3 separate regions of the Homo sapiens genome follow, and regions 1 and 2 are each linked to region 3. The links are contacts of gene promoters, found by promoter capture Hi-C in human tissues and cell types (Jung and others, 2019). All regions are on one chromosome and are shown on one strand. The core of a region is centred on a gene start or on the middle of the fragment in contact, and the rest is flanking DNA. Distances in the headings are between cores, read along the strand shown. Region 1 has its middle 51 kb from the start of IRX1. Region 2 has its middle 14 kb from the start of LINC01019. Region 3 holds the start of IRX1 (iroquois homeobox 1).

Region 1 (2,700 bases), core at 131-2,630, 51 kb before region 3:
CTGACTGCCCTTCTTCCCACTCCTTGGTCAGTGTGCCGAACAAACAGGACCACAACTGCCACTGGTGAGAAGGACCCCAGGAGTCACCCCAGTGACCCCATCCTTCAACAGTGAAAAATAGAGCACAGAGTGATCCAACCAGCGCTACCCCCATGTCCACAGCCAAGCTGAGATGGGGAGCTGGGTTCCCTGATGCCCTACTCAGAATTCTTCCTACATATGAAAACAAAATTATAAGCAGAGTTTTGAAGTATGTAATGCCACAGCTAAGACAATGGAAAGATTTCAAAAAGCTAGATCATGACATAACAAAGTAATTTGGAAAACACTAGAAAATGACCATTCTCATCTATGTTTGGCCATTAAAAGGAAAGACTATAAAAAGGAAAGACTGTCTTTGAGGATTATGTCTTTATGTTACTAATGAACACATAACCAGGTCATGAAGCTCATCAGAGCCCCTCATTCCTGGAGCAAGTGCGAAGAGACCCCAGCAGGGGCTCTGCAATCCCCCACCAGCTGCACATCTCTGAAAACTGCCAGGGCTTCCACGTGACCTGCTGAGAAGCACTAAGATTCCTTCCTGGGTTCCTGGAGCTTCCTGAGGACAGACACCGTATGTGGGCATGACACCACCAAACATTTAATAAGCATCTGTTGAATTATTTGATTGATGGGTGATGGATTGATTGTCCCAGTGGGTGAGTGAGTTGATGACCTTTCAAACAACTGAAAAACATGTGTCAAGTCAAATTTCTGTTCAGGAATGCCTCCAGCAACAGAGGCAGTGCAGACATGGCACTGGGGGAAATGGCAAAAACAAAGCTCAAAATTAGGGGTCTTGCCAGGCCCATTTCTGTGGACAAAACATGGCTGTGGGGTTTGTTGAGAGAGAGGTTCTGTGGACCAGAACTGGTCTGGAAAATCTGGAAAAATCTAGGATCTATGCACGACAGTCCTTAGAAATCCAAGGCTCAGGCCGGGCACGGTGGCTCATACCTGTAATCCCAACACTTTGGGAGGCTGAGGCGAGTGGATCACGAGGTCAGGAGTTTGAGACCAGCCTGGTCAATATAGTGAAACCCTGTCTCTACTAAAAATACAAAAATTAGGCGGGCGTGGTGGCACACACCTGCAGTCCCAGCTACTTGGGAAAGTGAGGCTGCAGAATCACTTGAAACCTGGAGGCAGAGGTTGCAGTGAGCCGAGACCATGCCATTGCACTCCAGCCTGGGTAATGGAGTGAGACTCCATCTCAAAAAAAAAAAAGGAAAAGAAAGAAAGAAAGAAAGAAATCCAAGGTTCTTGGTGGGGAAGGCAGAGAATATTCCAAATGCTCAGTTGGCTTGATGGGAGTCTTCTTTTCAAGGTGCCCTCTAGAATAGCTAAAACTTTCTTTTTTATGATTTCAATTTTTATTTTATTTTCAGTGGGTACCTGTGCAGGTTTGTTACCAGAGTATACTGCGTGATGCTGAGATTTGGGGTACAATTGAAACTGTCACCCAAGTACTGAGCACAGTACTCAATAGGTCATTTTTCATACCTTGCCCCCTCTCTCTCTCCCTCCCTCCCTTCTTTGTAGAGCCCAGTGTCTATTGTTCCCATTGTTATGTCCATGTGTATCCCAAGTTTAGCTCCCACTTATAAGTGAGAACATGCAGTATTTGGTTTTCTGTTCCTGTGTTCATTTGCTTAGTATAATGGCCTCCAACTTCATCTATGTTGCTGGAAAGGACATGATTTCCTTCCTTTTGTTTGTCTGAGTAGTATTCCATTGTGTATATGTATCATATTTTCTTTATCCAGTCCAGTGTTGATGGATATTTAAGTTGATTTCATGTCTTTGCTATTGTGAATAGTGCTGTGATAAACATACGCACACATGTGTCTGTTTGGTAGAATTATTTATTTTCCTCTGGGTAAATACAAATACCCAGATATGGGATTGCAGGATCTAAAGGTAGTTTTGCTTTTAATTCTTTGAGAAATGTCCAAACTGCTTTCCACAGTAGTTGAACTAATTTACATCCCCACCAACAATGTATAAGCATAACCTTTTCTCTGCAGCCTCACCAGCTTCTGTTATTTTTTATTTTTATTTATTTATTTTTTTTTTTTTGAGACAGGGTCTTGGTCTGTCATGCAGGCTAGAGTACAGTGGCATGGTCATGGCTCACCATAGCCTCAACTTCCCGGGCTCAAGTGATCCTCCCACTTCAGCTTCCCAAGTAGCTGAGACTACAGGCATGTGCCACCATGCCCACCTTATTTTTAAATATTTTTTGTAGAGATGAGGTCTTGTTATGTTGTCTAAGATGGTCTTGAACTCTTGGGCTCAAGCGATTCTCCTGCCTCAGTCTCCCAAAGTGCTGGGATTACAGGCATAAACCACCATACCCAGCCAGCATCTGTTACTTTTTTACTTTTTCGTAATAGTCGTTCTGACTTGTGAGAGGTGGTATGTCATTGCGGTTTAAATTTGCATCTCTCTGAAGATGTTGAGCATTTTCTCATGTTTGTTGGCTGCTTGTATGTTTTCTTTGGAGAAGTGTTTGTTTATGTCTTTTGCCAAGTTTTCAACGGAATTATTTGTTTTTTGTTTGTGAGTTGTTTGAGTTTCTTGTAGATTCTGGACATTAGACCTTTGTGGAATGCATTGTTTGCAAATAGCTTCTACCATCCTGTAGGCTGTCTGTTC
Region 2 (2,700 bases), core at 124-2,623, 46 kb after region 3:
CATTTTCATCATGAAATCTTTGCCTGTGCCTATATCCTGAATGGTTTTACCTAGGATTTCTTCTGGGATTCTTAGTTTTGGGTTTTAAATTTAAGTTTTTAATCCATCTTGAGTTGATTTTTGTATGTGGTGTAAGGAAGGGGTCCTGTTTCAATTTCACACACATGGATAGCCAGTTCTCCCAGTGCCATTTATTAAATAGGGAATCTGGCTAGGCATGGTGGCTCATGCCAGGCAGGATTCCGTATTTAATAAATCCCAGCACTTTGGGAGGCAGAGGTGGATGGATCACTTCTGGTCAAGAGTTCAAGACCAGCCTGGCCAACATGGTGAAACCCCATCTCTACTAAAAATAAAAAAATTAGCCAGGCATGGTGGTGGGCACCTTTAATCCCAGCTACTTCGGAGGCTGAGGCAGGAGAATCACTTGAACCTGGGGGCGGAGGTTGCAGTGAGCCAAGATTGCACCACTGTACTCCAGCCTGGGCAACAGGGAGAGGCTCTGTCTCAAAAACAATAAATAATAAATAAAAAATAAATATGGAATCCTTTTCTCATTGCTTGCTTATGTCAGGTTTGTTGAAAATCAGATGGTTGCAGGTGTGCAGTTTTATTTCTGGGTTCTCTATTCTGTTTAATTGGTCTAGGTGTCTGTTTTGGTACAAGTGCCATCCTGTTTTGGTTACAGTAGCCCTGTAGTATAGTTTGAAGTCAGGTAGCATGATGCCTCCAGCTTTGCTCTTTTTCCTTAGGATTGCTTTGGTTATGTGGGCTCTTTTTGTTGGTTCTATTGAACTTTAACATTTTTTCCCTCATTCTGTGAAGAATTTCAATAGTAGTTTAATAGGAATAGCTTTGAATCTATAAATTACTTTGGACAGTATGGCCATTTTCATGATATTGAGTCTTTCTATTCATGAGCATGGAATGTTTTTCCATTTGTTTGTATCATCTCTGATTTCTTTGAGCAGTGTTTTGTAGTTCTTTGAAGAGGTCCTTCACTTCCCTTGTTAGCTGTATTTTTTTTTCTTTTTCTTTTCTTTTTTTTTTTTTTTGAAATGAAGTTTTGCTCTTCTTGCCTAGGCTGAAGTGTAATGATGCGATCTCAGCTCACTGTAACCTCCACCACCCAGGTTCAAGCTATTCTGTTGCCTCAGCCTCCCGAGTAGCTGGGATTACAGGTGCGTGCCACTAAGCCCAGCTAATTTTGTATATTTTTAGTAGAGATGGGGTTTCACCATGTTGGCCAGGCTGGTCTCGGGTTCCTGACCTCAGGTGATCCACCAGCCTTGGCCTCCCAAAGTACTGGGATTATAGGCATGAGCCACCGTGCCCAGCCATTCCTAGGTTTTTAAGTTCTTTTTGTGGCAATTGTGAGTGGGAGTACATTAGTGATTTGGTTCTTGGCTCGCCTGCTCTTGGTGTACAGGAATGCTAGTGACTTTTGCACATTTATTTTGAATCTGGAGAGTTTGATAAAGTTGCTCATTAGCATAAGAAGCTTTTGGGCTGAGACAATTGGGATTTCTAGATATAAAATCAAGTCATCTGCAAGCAAAGGTAGCTTGACTTCTTTTCTTCCTATTTGAATACACTTTATTTTTTTCTCTTGCCTGATTGCCCAGGCCAGAACTTCCAATACTATGTTAAAGAGGAATGGTGAAAAAGGACAACCTTGTCTTGTGGTGATTTTCAAGGGGAGTGCTTCCAGTTTTTGCTCATTCAATATGATATCGGCTGTGGGTTTATCATATATGGCTCTTAATCTTCTGAGGTATGTTTCTTCAATACCTAGTTTTTTGGGGGAGAGCTTAACATGAAGTGATATTTAATTTTATCAAAGGCCTTTTCTGCATCTACTGAGATAATCATGGTCTTTTGATAATTATTTTGTCTTTGGTTCTATTTATATGATGAATCTCATTTATTAATTTGTATATATGAACCAGCCTTGCATCCTGGGGGTGAAGCCTACTTGATGGTGGCAAATAAGCTTTTTGACCTGCTGCTGTATTCGGTTTGCCAGTATTTTGTTGAGGATTTTTGTGTCAATGTTCATCAAAGATATTGTGCTGAAGTTTTTTGTTGTTGTTGTATCTCTGTCAGGTTTTGGTATCAGGATGATGCTAGCCTTGTAGAATGAGTTTGGGAGGAATTATTCCTTTTCAATTTTTTGGAATAGTTTCAATAGAAATGGTACCAGCTCTTCTTTGTACCTCTGGTAGAATGCAGCTGTAAATCTATCTGGTCCTGGGTTTTTTTTTGTTGTTGTTGGTAGTCTATTTATTACTGATTCAATTTCAGAACTCGTTATTGGTCTACTCAGGAATTCAGTTCTTTCCTGGTTCAGTCTTCGGTGGGTGTATGTGTCCAGAAATTTATTCATTTCTTCTAGATTTTCTAGTTGATGTGCATAGAGGTGTTTATAGTATTCTCTGATGATTGTATTTCTTTGGGGTCAGTGTTAATATCCCCCTTATCATTTCTGATTGTCCAACCTTTTTTTTTTTTTTTTCCTGAGACGACATTTGTTGCCCAGGCTGGAGTGCAATGGTGTGATCTCGGCTCGCTGCAACCTCCGCCTGCCGGGTTCAAACGATTCTCCTGCCTCAGCCTCCTGAGTAGCTGGGATTACAGGTACATGTCACTATGACTGGCTAATTTTTGTATTTTTAGTGGAGACAGGGCTTCACTATGTTG
Region 3 (2,700 bases), core at 107-2,606:
ACGGGAGACTAAGAGGACACCATTTGTTTTAAGCCAAGGGACACTGTTTTCTTTAATCCTCCATTATGTAACGCAGGAAGAAAAGTGCTTTTCTTTCTGTGCAAATGAAATGAAAACTTGGGCAACTTACAAAAGTAAAATCAAACACCGTTTCAGACACCAGCACATTACTGCAACTTAATTTTTGTTTAATCTCAAATTCGCACTCACGCCGTGGAGAGACCTCTCCATCCCTTTGGACCTCTATTGTTAAGATTATTTTGATTGACTCTACCAGGCTTAGAAGGGGTCTGTCTGGCAAACTCGGATACAACTATCTCGGAGCTGCTAAAGAGGGAGAAAACCAAGTTTTCCAGACTCGGTTCGAAAACTAAAGAGGCCGCGCGAGTGGAACCCGCGGCCAGGAAGGGAAGTCCTGCTACGCTACGCCGGGCCGACCTGCAGGAACCCCGTGGGCCTGCCCGGGCGCCCTGGCCGAGCCAGGCGAGTTTGCCCCCGACCTCCAGCGCGGGCACCGCTCCACGGGCCTGCTTCTGCGGCCTCTCTGAATTCACTCGCTACCCGCTCCCTGGCCCGGGCCTTCCGCTTTCCCAGGCCGAGATGGCCCAGCCGTCACCCGCCCGGCCTCCCAGCCCTCTTGCGTCCCCGGGGGCCGCGGCCTCGGCCACCGGGAACCTGCCCCCGGACCTTTCTAGTTCCTCTTCCGGACCAGGTCCACCCGTAGTCTCTCCCTCCCGGGCGACCCGCCACCCTTGCCCTGGCGCGGGTGAGACAGAGGAGAAGCGGGGGAGGCCGGGCGCACTCACCATCTGCGAGAAGAGGCTGAGATCCGCGGCGTAGGGCAGGAAGGCGCTGTAGTTGGGCGCGCCCGCGTACGGCCCCGCCGCCGCGTACATGCCCAGCACCGAGGTGACTGCAGCCGCGCCTGCCCCGCCGCCCAGCTCCGCGGCCCCCGGTCGGCCCGACGAGGCGGCGGCAGCCGCCGCAGCGGCCGCGGCCAGCACCCCCGGGCGCTCGCCGCCGTAGGCGCCCGGCCCCGCGGCGCTCAGGTACTGCGGGTAGCCCAGCTGCGGGAAGGACATGTCCGCGGACTCGGCGACCGCCGCAGCGGGCGAGTATTAAAGGCGCGGGGAGGGAGGCGGAGGCCGGCCGGAGGGGGTTGCAGGGGGCGCCGCGAGGGGTCTAGGGAGGAGCGGGCGGCCGGCCGGGCGCGCTCGGGCGGGCCGGGAGATGGAGGCCGGTCGCGGCTCCTCTGCCCGGTGCTCGCAGGCGCCCGGCTCCCGGCTGCGCCCGGATCCGCAATCGCGCGCCGACTGCGGCGGCCGCCCTCCGCTCGGCGGCGGGGCTTTCAGACACAATTTGAAGTTGATGCTTTGATTGGCATCCCCTTGAGCGCAGGCCCCGCCCCTGGCTCCCCTCCCGCCCCCTCCCTGCCTCCCGCCCGCCCTCGCCGGCCGCTCCCGCCCCTCCCGCGAGCACGTGGTGCCCCGTGCCGGCCCGGCCAGCTACTCTCGCGGTGGGCGCGCGCGTCGGGGCGGCGGGGTGTGGGCCCGGAGGCCGTGGGCTCCTTCCCGACCAGCCCCCGCAGCTGTCTGACAACCTGTCGACACGGGTTTACAGCTGTCTGACACCGGGTTTGCAGTTTCGCGGCCGAGGTGTGTCCCCTTTTTAACAAAAACAACTTGGCGCCTGCTTTTCTACTGTTTGGGCAGCGGGGAAGGGGCCGGCGGCCTGGACGCTGGTGACAGCGAGGGGGGAGCGGCCTCTCCCCCGAGTCCCGCGCGGCCGGGGCCTCCAGGGGACATCTTTGGCAGAAGTGCACCCGGACGCTCTCCGCGAGCCACTGAACCGGCGTGGCGTGACACCCCCGACTCCAGATGCGGGTTCCCGTGGGCCCCTACTGGGTAGTAACCGATCGTCTGCCAATGACCGGCCTCGCCGCCCTTGGGGAAGCGGGGAGCGGCCGAGCTCTGCGGGCTCTTTCAATTGTGCAAACTTTGAGCGAGGGCAAATCCCGCGGAGAAGTCGCCAGCTCGGGGGAAGCAGGCGCAGTCGGCGCCGCGGGTTCTCGGAGGGAGGGGTGGGGGAGACGCGGGGGGAGGGGCTTTCTCTTCACCCAGAAAGCCCCCTGGCAGCCGGAGGGAAACATCCCCCGCGCCCCCGCGAAGGGGGAAGACGGTGTGGCCTGGACGCCCGGTTTGTCCACCAGGTGTGCAGAGGCAGACAGGAAACTTGTGTGGAACGCGCGAACCCGAGTCGGCGCCGCCGCCAGACCGGCAACGGAGCGGCCTCTTGGGTCCAAGTCCCGCGTCCCTCTTCTCCCTGCGTCTCCCCTCTCCATCCTCAGCCTCGTCGGGCTACAGGACGCGGCCAGGCGCGGCGCACTTGAGATGGGCTCCGTTTCGCCGCGGCCCTGGCCGTGCGGCTCCCGGGAGAAGATGCCAAGTGCACGGGCCTCCTCGCCTCCCTGAGCCTGGGAAGGCGCTGGCAGGCCACTTCTGCGCCTCGTGGCTGGAGAGCTCCGGACGGTGCCGTGGGGAACCGGGTACCAGTCCCGGCTCCCGGGGCCACTTTGCGAACCACCTCCTACGCAGAGACGGGGCCGGGAGTTCACCCCGCTGCGGCTCTCCAGCACACCGGACTCCGCGGGAATTTCAGCAGCGCACTCTGGCGTCTTCTCGGCTTTAGGCCGGGTTGGGG

The links. The method cuts DNA at HindIII sites, captures the fragments that hold promoters and counts their contacts. A contact is called where the count stands out against the background at its distance.
Region 1: a contact is called between a fragment that was not itself captured here and the fragment with the promoter of IRX1 in region 3, in 1 of the 25 tissues and cell types used here (small bowel).
Region 2: a fragment that was not itself captured here is called in contact with the fragment with the promoter of IRX1 in region 3 in 1 of the 25 tissues and cell types used here (stomach).

The regions. Positions count from the first base shown.
Region 1 is chr5:3,645,748-3,648,447 of GRCh38, reverse strand. No RefSeq gene overlaps it. Among named protein-coding and RNA genes, the nearest start is that of IRX1, 51 kb to the right of the region's middle. The HindIII fragment of the contact is 3,301 bases long and covers 1-2,700 here.
Region 2 is chr5:3,548,781-3,551,480 of GRCh38, reverse strand. No RefSeq gene overlaps it. Among named protein-coding and RNA genes, the nearest start is that of LINC01019, 14 kb to the right of the region's middle. The HindIII fragment of the contact is 6,314 bases long and covers 1-2,700 here.
Region 3 is chr5:3,594,488-3,597,187 of GRCh38, reverse strand. IRX1 (iroquois homeobox 1) reads right to left here and starts at 1,356. Exons shown (of 4, transcript NM_024337.4): 1 at 807-1,356. The coding sequence starts at 1,082. RefSeq lists a silencer at 1,359-1,653. The HindIII fragment of the contact is 23,247 bases long and covers 1-2,700 here.